Linked DNA regions of Homo sapiens: region 2 is linked to region 1. Evidence: promoter capture Hi-C in 16 types of primary human blood cells and fetal thymus (Javierre and others, 2016). All regions are on one chromosome and are shown on one strand. Each heading gives the region's core, a stretch centred on a gene start or on the middle of the fragment in contact. The rest is flanking DNA. Distances are from core to core; before and after follow the strand shown. Region 1 holds the start of LINC01088 (long intergenic non-protein coding RNA 1088). Region 2 has its middle 37 kb from the start of BMP3.

Evidence for each region. The method cuts DNA at HindIII sites, captures the fragments that hold promoters and counts their contacts. A CHiCAGO score of 5 or more calls a contact.
Region 2: a fragment that was not itself captured here is called in contact with the fragment with the promoter of LINC01088 in region 1 in 1 of 17 cell types (M0 macrophages); the score reaches 5.1 in M0 macrophages.

What each region holds. Positions count from the first base shown.
Region 1 is chr4:78,969,833-78,973,737 of GRCh38, reverse strand. LINC01088 (long intergenic non-protein coding RNA 1088) reads right to left here and starts at 1,990. Exons shown (of 6, transcript NR_038342.1): 1 at 1,862-1,990; 2 at 686-738. The HindIII fragment of the contact is 4,785 bases long and covers 1-3,905 here.
Region 2 is chr4:80,991,146-80,995,386 of GRCh38, reverse strand. No RefSeq gene overlaps it. Among named protein-coding and RNA genes, the nearest start is that of BMP3, 37 kb to the left of the region's middle. The HindIII fragment of the contact is 1,962 bases long and covers 1,523-3,484 here.

The DNA.
Region 1 (3,905 bases), core at 741-3,240:
TAACGCATGTAAAATATTTGGGAAAGTGTCCAGTACATAGTAAGTTCTATACAGGTATTTGCTATTATTATTTATCAGCTGTGAGCATCACTCATTATGCTGTAAGGTGCACAAAGGCTGGAATTGTTTCTGTATTTCCCACTCCTCATATCTGCTTTCAAATAGTTTTTGGAGGAAGAAAGTTGTGAAATCCCAAAGTTTCCTCTGCCATCACTAAATCTCTTCATCTCATTCACAGCTCTGCCACATTCTCTACGGTCACCACCATTGGAGTTGCTGTCACCACAGCTACCACAGCCCCTTTACTGACACATCCAAATACCTTAAGTTCAAAAGGCTGTGGCATCAGATTCAGAAAGAAGAGTGCTAATTCTAAAAGATAGCCATTCGAGCAGCAGCAATGTAACAGATGTTTTGTTGATTTAGCAATTATTTCAAAGGTAACAAAAACTCTGGCTAACAATAGAGGAGGAAGGAGCTTACGCTCCAGAAGAAACACACCAACAACTACAAATTCACAGCCACTATCCACCAAGGGGGTACAAAATAATAGTAAGAATAACAATAACAAAAACAACAATGAAAGCACTAAGATGCTTTCAAGGGAGGCACCATAGCAGAGTCGTCATGAGCACAAGACCTGGATCCTGCCAATCTGGGTCTCAAGCCCATCTCTGTTACTTACTAGCTGTGAAACGCTGAGCTGTTTCTTAATTTTTACGTGATTTAGCTTCCTCTCTGAAAAATGAAGATAAAAATAGTATCAGCACCACTACAGTATTACTATAAGGACTAAAGAATTACCTTTTGTAGAGAACTTGGAACAGTGACTGGCACATAAAAAGTATTCAATTAATGTTGGTTATTTTTGTTAATTGAAAGAGTTTTCACAGACATATCTCAAAGGACCAGCACTGAGAGTTTTCCACACATATATTATGCAGACACACACACACCCAAGACCTTTTTCCCGACACCTCACATTAACACTACACTTTGATACAGTGTGTACTCTCTCAGGCCCTTTCCTTGGGCTCTTACACAAAGCCAAGAGTTCTGCCTGTTGCTCTTTTCCCTGATGTGACTATTACCTGTGTTAAGACAGGTATCTTAACATGCATAGATCTTAAATCAATCTATGCATGGCTACCATTATTTCACTGCAGAACACGGACTAATAGTCCCAGCTTTACTTCTCAATCGAGGCTTTCTGTAAGAAGAAGAGCTTCCTATCCAGGTTTTCTTATGAACACACAAAGACCAATCTTTTATCCATGGCCTAACCCAGTGTTTACCAAACTTGAATACATCTGAAGACTTGCAAAGCTCTATCAATTTCTGTCTGAGAGACATATTCCAACCCTTAAATTTATGAAAGACTCAACAAGCTGAAAAAGCAAGCAATACAATTTCAGAGAAGTAGTTTATCCAAGGATACATGGACAGTAAAAAGTAGAACTATGCCTTAAAACCCTTCTTTTGACTTTAGTACAATGTTTTCTTTTAAATTTTATTTATTCAAGAAGTTTGGAATTTAGAAATCATGGAGATGATTGGGCAAACCTAATACTAAAGGAAAAGTCAGATAATCCATAATATCATTGCTTTTTATCCCATTAAAAAAGCTGAGAATACTAATAAAGCTAACTTAACTAAAATCTGTATAGTTATGATCCCGTTCTATAAAAGAAGAGACCAGTGAATTTTTTCATCCCTGGTGGTGCAGCAGGAAACAGAATCTACCACAGAAAAGAAAATGAGGAACTACATGAATCTTAGACAACTATTAAGACCTGTGTGTGAACTAGCTTGACATGCTGGAGTCCCAAGGAACCCATCCACACCATCAAGCTGTACTCACCTGCCAGCACTTTACCACAGGTCTTCACCAGGCACAGAGGAGGACTATACTGAAGACTGAGGGAAAGTCAAGAAATCTGAGAGAGAGAGATCCTTGAGGCATGTGAACCTTCCCTAAGTGCAAGGCAGCATCCCAGTGAAGACTGGAGTCAGGGCAGAAGAGTTAAAAGAAATCTGTCTGAGAAAGTCTAGGCCTTCACTAGGTCAAAACAGTTGCAACGGAGGCCAGAAATAAGGCAGAAGAACTGAGAACAGTTGCTCAGAGTGTTGCAAACTTTCATTAAGTACAAGGCACTGGATGCCAAAGGCTTGAAGCAGCAGAGCAAAAAGAAGAGAGACCTCCTGAGATTAATAAAGTCAGAAACAGGAAAGGAAAAAGAACTCCCTAGCAACCAAAACAGTCTGGGAGCACACAGAGATCTCTGAAATCTTGCCAGTGCTCAGATCACAAGCCCTAGTGATAGAAAAGACCTTATTCTGTTTTCAAAACATTTGAAGTCAGTGGTAAACTAATCCAACTAAAGCTGAAATAATCCCACATACCTCAAATATACAACAGATTTCCTCAACTTTCCCAAGAAAAGGTCTAACAAAAAAAGTATGCACTTTTTTAGGGTAAATAAATATTAATTTTCTCAATCTCTACTATTTTTCTCACAATATCCAACATAGAGTAAAAAATTTTGAGACCCACAAAGAGAAAAAATGTGAGCAATAATCAAATGAGAAAACAGTCAACAGGCTGAGACTCTAGAAAGCACAGACGTTAGATTTATCAGGGAGTAACTTCAGCATAACTATGATAAATATGTCAAATAATTCAGTGGAAAAGGTAGAGAGCATGCATGAATATATAGAGAATTTCAGCAGAGTAATGAAAAGTATGAAAAGAAACCAAACTGCAATGTCAAAATTTGTTTTTAAAATACACTGTCATCAAAAGAGAATACATATTAGGAGTCTAACAGGCCATAAAACACAACAGTAGCCTATTAGCAGCAGCAAAAAGCAGAAGTAAACCTGAGGACAGGTCAATTATCCAAAAATAAATAAATAAATAAAAGGGGGAATGAGTGAAAAACTTGAGTCTATGATCTCTAGGACAATATTAAGTAGCCTAGTAAATATGTAATTGCATCTGTGAGAGATAGAAAATGAGTCAGAAGAAATCCTTGAAAACATAATGGCCAAGAATTTCTCAAAATTGATTAAAAATATCAAACCTCAGCATCAGGAATCATAGTAACCCCAAAAGAGGATAAACACAAAAACAGAACTAGGCACACCATACTCACTCTGTTGATAGCCAAAGATGATACAAAAATCTTAAAAGCAGTCAGAGAAAAAAGAAACATTACACGGAAGAAAAAAATGATAAAAATTATGTCTAATTTCTCTTCAGAAACAATTACTCCAAAACAATGGAATGACATCTTTAAAGAGCTGAAAGTGAAACATGTTAGTCTGGAATTCTGTATAGGATTCTAAATAGATTCTACATAAAATTGTAGCATAGTCCTATATCCTACAAAAATGAAAAATAAAGACATTTTCATACCCTTCTCCCCAAATCAGATTTTTTTTCCAGGAGACCTACACAAGAAATGCTAAAAGAAATTCTTCAGGGCCGGGCGCGGTGGCTCACGCCTGTAATCCCAGCACTTTGGGAGGCTGAGGCAGGCGGATCACAAGGTCAGGATTTCGAGACCATCCTGGCTAACATGGTGAAACCCCATCTCTACTAAAAATACAAAAAATTAGCCAGGCCTGGTGGCAGGCGCCTGTAGTCCCAGCTACTCGGGAGGCTGAGGCAGGAGAATGGCATGAACCCAGGAGGTGGAGTGTGCAGTGAGCCTAGATAATGCCACTGCACTCCAGCCTGGGTGACAGAACGAGACTCCGTCTCAAAAAAAAAAAAAAAAGAAAAAAGAAATTATTCAACATGTACATAATAGGCACATAAAATAGGCACAACAAACCATTTGGCAAAATCCAACATCCATTCCTCATAAAACGACTCAGTGAAAAAGAAACTGAAGAGAATT
Region 2 (4,241 bases), core at 1,254-3,753, 2.0 Mb before region 1:
GACAAAGGGCTAATATCCAGAATCTACACTGAACTCAAACAAATTTACAAGAAAAAAACAAACAACCCCATCAAAAAGTGGGCAAAGGATATGAACAGGTGCTTCTCAAAAGAAGACATTTATGCAGCCAAAAGACACATGAAAAAAATGCTCATCATCACTGGCCATCAGAGAAATGCAAATCAAAACCACAATGAGATACCATCTCACACCAGTTAGAATGGCAATCATTAAAAAGTCAGGAAACAACAGGTGCTAGAGAGGATGTGGAGAAATAGGAACACTTTTACACTGTTGGTGGGACTGTAAACTAGTTCAACCATTGTGGAAGTCAGTGTGGCGATTCCTCAGGGATCTAGAACTAGAAATACCATTTGACCCAGCCATCCCATTACTGGGTATATACCCAAAGGACTATAAATCATGCTGCTATAAAGACACATGCACATGTATGTTTATTGCGGCATTATTCACAATAGCCAGGACTTGGAACCAACCAAAATGTCCAATAATGGTAGACTGGATTAAGAAAATGTGGCACATATACACCATGGAATACTATGCAGCCATAAAAAATGATGAGTTCATGTCCTTTGTAGGGACATGGATGAAATTGGAAATCATCATTCTCAGTAAACTATCGCAAGAACAAAAAACCAAACACTGCATATTCTCACTCATAGATGGGAATTGAACAATGAGAACAGATGGACACAGGAAGGGGAATACCACACTCTGGGGACTGTTGTGGGGTGTGGGGAGGGGGGAGGGGGGAGGGATAGCATTGGGAGATATACCTAATGCTAAATGATGAGTTAATGGGTGCAGCACACCAGCATGGCACATATATACATATGTAACTAACCTGCACATTGTGCACATGTACCCTAAAACTTAAAGTATATATAAAAAAAAATCTGAACCAGATCTTGTCTAACGTAATGATAAAGAAACTGAGTCCTGGAGGTGCTCATGAACTGGTCTCCATTTCTGTTTCTTCTCTCTTCTGTTACTCCTTTTATGCATTTTTGACATGGTGCTCTAGATAGAGGGGTCACAGCTGCTCAGAGTGCTCTATTGTAAGCATGGTTCAGGAGTGGCAGGTTTCATGTAAGTTGGATTCTGTTCACTGGTAGGAGATCAATGTGTGAGTGGCTTCAGACGGCTTTGCTTTGCTTTCCAGATGAAAACCTGACAGAGTCCAGGCACCTTGGATACCGCTGTGTGCTGACAAATGACTTGAAAAATGGGGGATGAGAGAGGGTGCTGGTGGGTGGGAGAAGGACCAATCTGCTCCTGGGAATACTTTAGACAAAAAAACTAAGGGCTACAAAGTGACTCTTGAGTATGTGACTTTTTAAAACCCTCATTTATTTTAACTGGAGCAGCTCTTTTCGTCATGAGTTGTTTTATATTTTACTTGATATGCAATGTCAACTACCATAGAATTGGTCTTGATCCTTCTTATTATAAAGGCTAAGTTAGAAATTAATTTCATTTTTAACAATGTATTGGGCAAGCTTATTATGGGAATAAGAGGAAGTGTACTTTGTCCACTCTTTATAGTACTTATTCTTCTTCCTCTGTATGATATTGGAATCTGAGTTATGTGCAGAAACATTTACACTTTAACCTTGGTTTGTACACAGAGAAAACCAAAATTCAGCTTTTTATCCCAGAAGTTAATTTTGCATTCCAAACTTTTAATAGGAGTGTTTTATATTCCTCTGGATAAATCTATTTGACCCTCACAATACATATTTATGTACTTAATTAGTAGACCCTGATTCTGTGATCACTTTTTTTTTCTTTTTGTCAAGACAGTGTCTTTTTACATTGCCCCGGCTGGTCTCAAACTCTCGGCCTCAAGCAATCTTCCTGTGTTGGTGTTGGGCTCCTAAAACACTGGGATTACAGGCATGAGCCACCATGCCTGACCTGTGACCACTTTTTAATATTCTATTGGAGCTAACTACCTTCCTGACAATTCCGGATGAGTTATGTTGGGTGTGTAACATTGGGAAATAGTATATGTATTTCTGACCCTTGATAATTAAAGAACAACAATAAAATGGTATCAGCAGAAAGAAACAAGAAAAAAGGAAAGGGAAGAAGGAAAAAACGAATGTAGAAAAAAGGAAGGAAAGGAAATAGGGAGAGAGGGAGGAAAAATACTGACTATAAGGAGAAATTCATTGTGTGGCTAGGTTAAGAGCCAACAGAAAGTAATGGGTTTCTATAAAAGTAAGAGGCTTAGGTAAATAGAGGAAGCTCATGAGAAAAGGCAAAAGCTCAATTTATGCTCATCTTTTGTTTTATGTTCCTGAGAATCAACACTCTATGCTACTAGAGATTTCTTCCCCATTGAAGTCTTTTATTGAGGCCCTGTCCACTATGTGATTATTCCTTGTTGTTCTGTTTCTCTACTCCTGGTAGAAACAAGAGGGTATTGAGGGATGTCTATGTTCAATTTGCTTAATTCAGTAACTTGCTGATAGAGATCAGGCGTGCGCTCTAGCCAAAAAGAGTGGAATCTGTAATCTTACATAGCAGACTAAAATCACCTCTTTTCTGTATATTGACTGTGTGATCTTGTGCAAGTTATAAAACGTCTCTGATTCTCACTTCCTTAATCTGCTTAATAGGGAAAATAATTAGTTTTTATAGAAGTGTGCTTGAGGGACGTTGTACCAGAGTGTGAGAGGCAGGTGTGAACATCTCTTCTAACTCCATGATCAGAGATGCCACATTCGTAGCTTTAAATAGAAATATTAGTAGTGAAAATATTTACACTACAGAAATTGGCAAAGACTTCAAATCAGGGTTTTTTTTCTTTTCAGAGATTGTTATTAAACATTTATTACCTCTTTGCTTATGTATGAAATGAGATAATAAGTAGGATTTTGCCAATTGTAGGGATGCAGTATATATTTTCCTTACTTCAGCCATCCCTATAGAATATTTGCATCTGAAAACCTTTGATTTTTATGCTTTTAAATAAAATAAAACAAATGACAATAAAATTTTACTTAGAAACTCAATTTCATATTACAATCTCTGTACTTTATGATATTTTATCTGGCTCAGTTCTTTTTTTCTCTCTATCTTTTGACACTACTCTGAAGAATTCAGAAGTTCCGTCACTTTTCTTGAATTTTTCTTACATGATGTCTAGTACAGTGTCCCATGAAGATAATTATTATATTGCATTTTGATGATGATTTTCAGTGTGAGCCTAGATTGTTCAATATTATCTTTAATGAACAGTGTTAAGAGTTAAAAGTTCAATGCAAAAATTATAATAGTTTTCACACATATTAAAGGTGGAAGAAAGTTTTCGTGAGGAAGATGATCTATGTGCTGATCTGCGGAATATGCTAAGATATCCCTGTGAGAAGGGCAAGACTAAAGAGTAAGACAGATGGGTCAGAGAGGACCGAATTGCTAGAGAAAGGGCAGAAACCTGGGATATAGCTGAAAAGCTTTGTGTCAGTGAGAAGTTTGAGGCACAGTTGGAAGAGCAGACAAAGACTACACCTTAAAAGGCCAACAGAGGAGTTTGTACTTCCTTTACCAGACAAGAAAAGGATGCTAGAGTATGAAATAATCAGAGGTACATTTTAGGAAGAATAATTAGGCAGTGTAAACTACGAATTGGGAGAGGAAGGATTGCAGAGTCATATATAAAGAGTATCAGCCTCCCTTAGCCTCAGTTTCCATACCTGGCAACTGTGAATAATAATGTTCTCTTCTAGGTTTATGATGATAATTAGATCAAGCCATGTCTATGGATGGACATGCCTCTGGCATAGAGTAGATATCAAGAGGGCTTTTCTCTCTTTCCAAATTGCTCTTAAATGAAGGGATTTTTAATTGAAGATTGCCTTGCCTAAAGAAAGGGAAATTTTAAATAATTTGACAAAATATAAAGTATACAAGATCCTTTTATAAAATATAAAATATAAAATATGGGAGCTGAGAACATATAACTGGATAGAAAAGATGCCAACAATCTATAGAGAAATTGATGTAAGCTGTTGTATATTTAAAAGATTTAAGAACAAGAGGAGAAAGATGTGTAGGAGGTGGACAAGCTATAGAAATACCATTGTAGGATGCAGGCTCTGATTCTCAGCATTCCAGTAATTAGCACATCTTGACAGGGTGAAAGCGGCCACCCAGTCTCTCTCTTTGAAGGGGCAGAGGTCATTGACAGCTGGTGCTTGGGCCTTTGGGGGAAT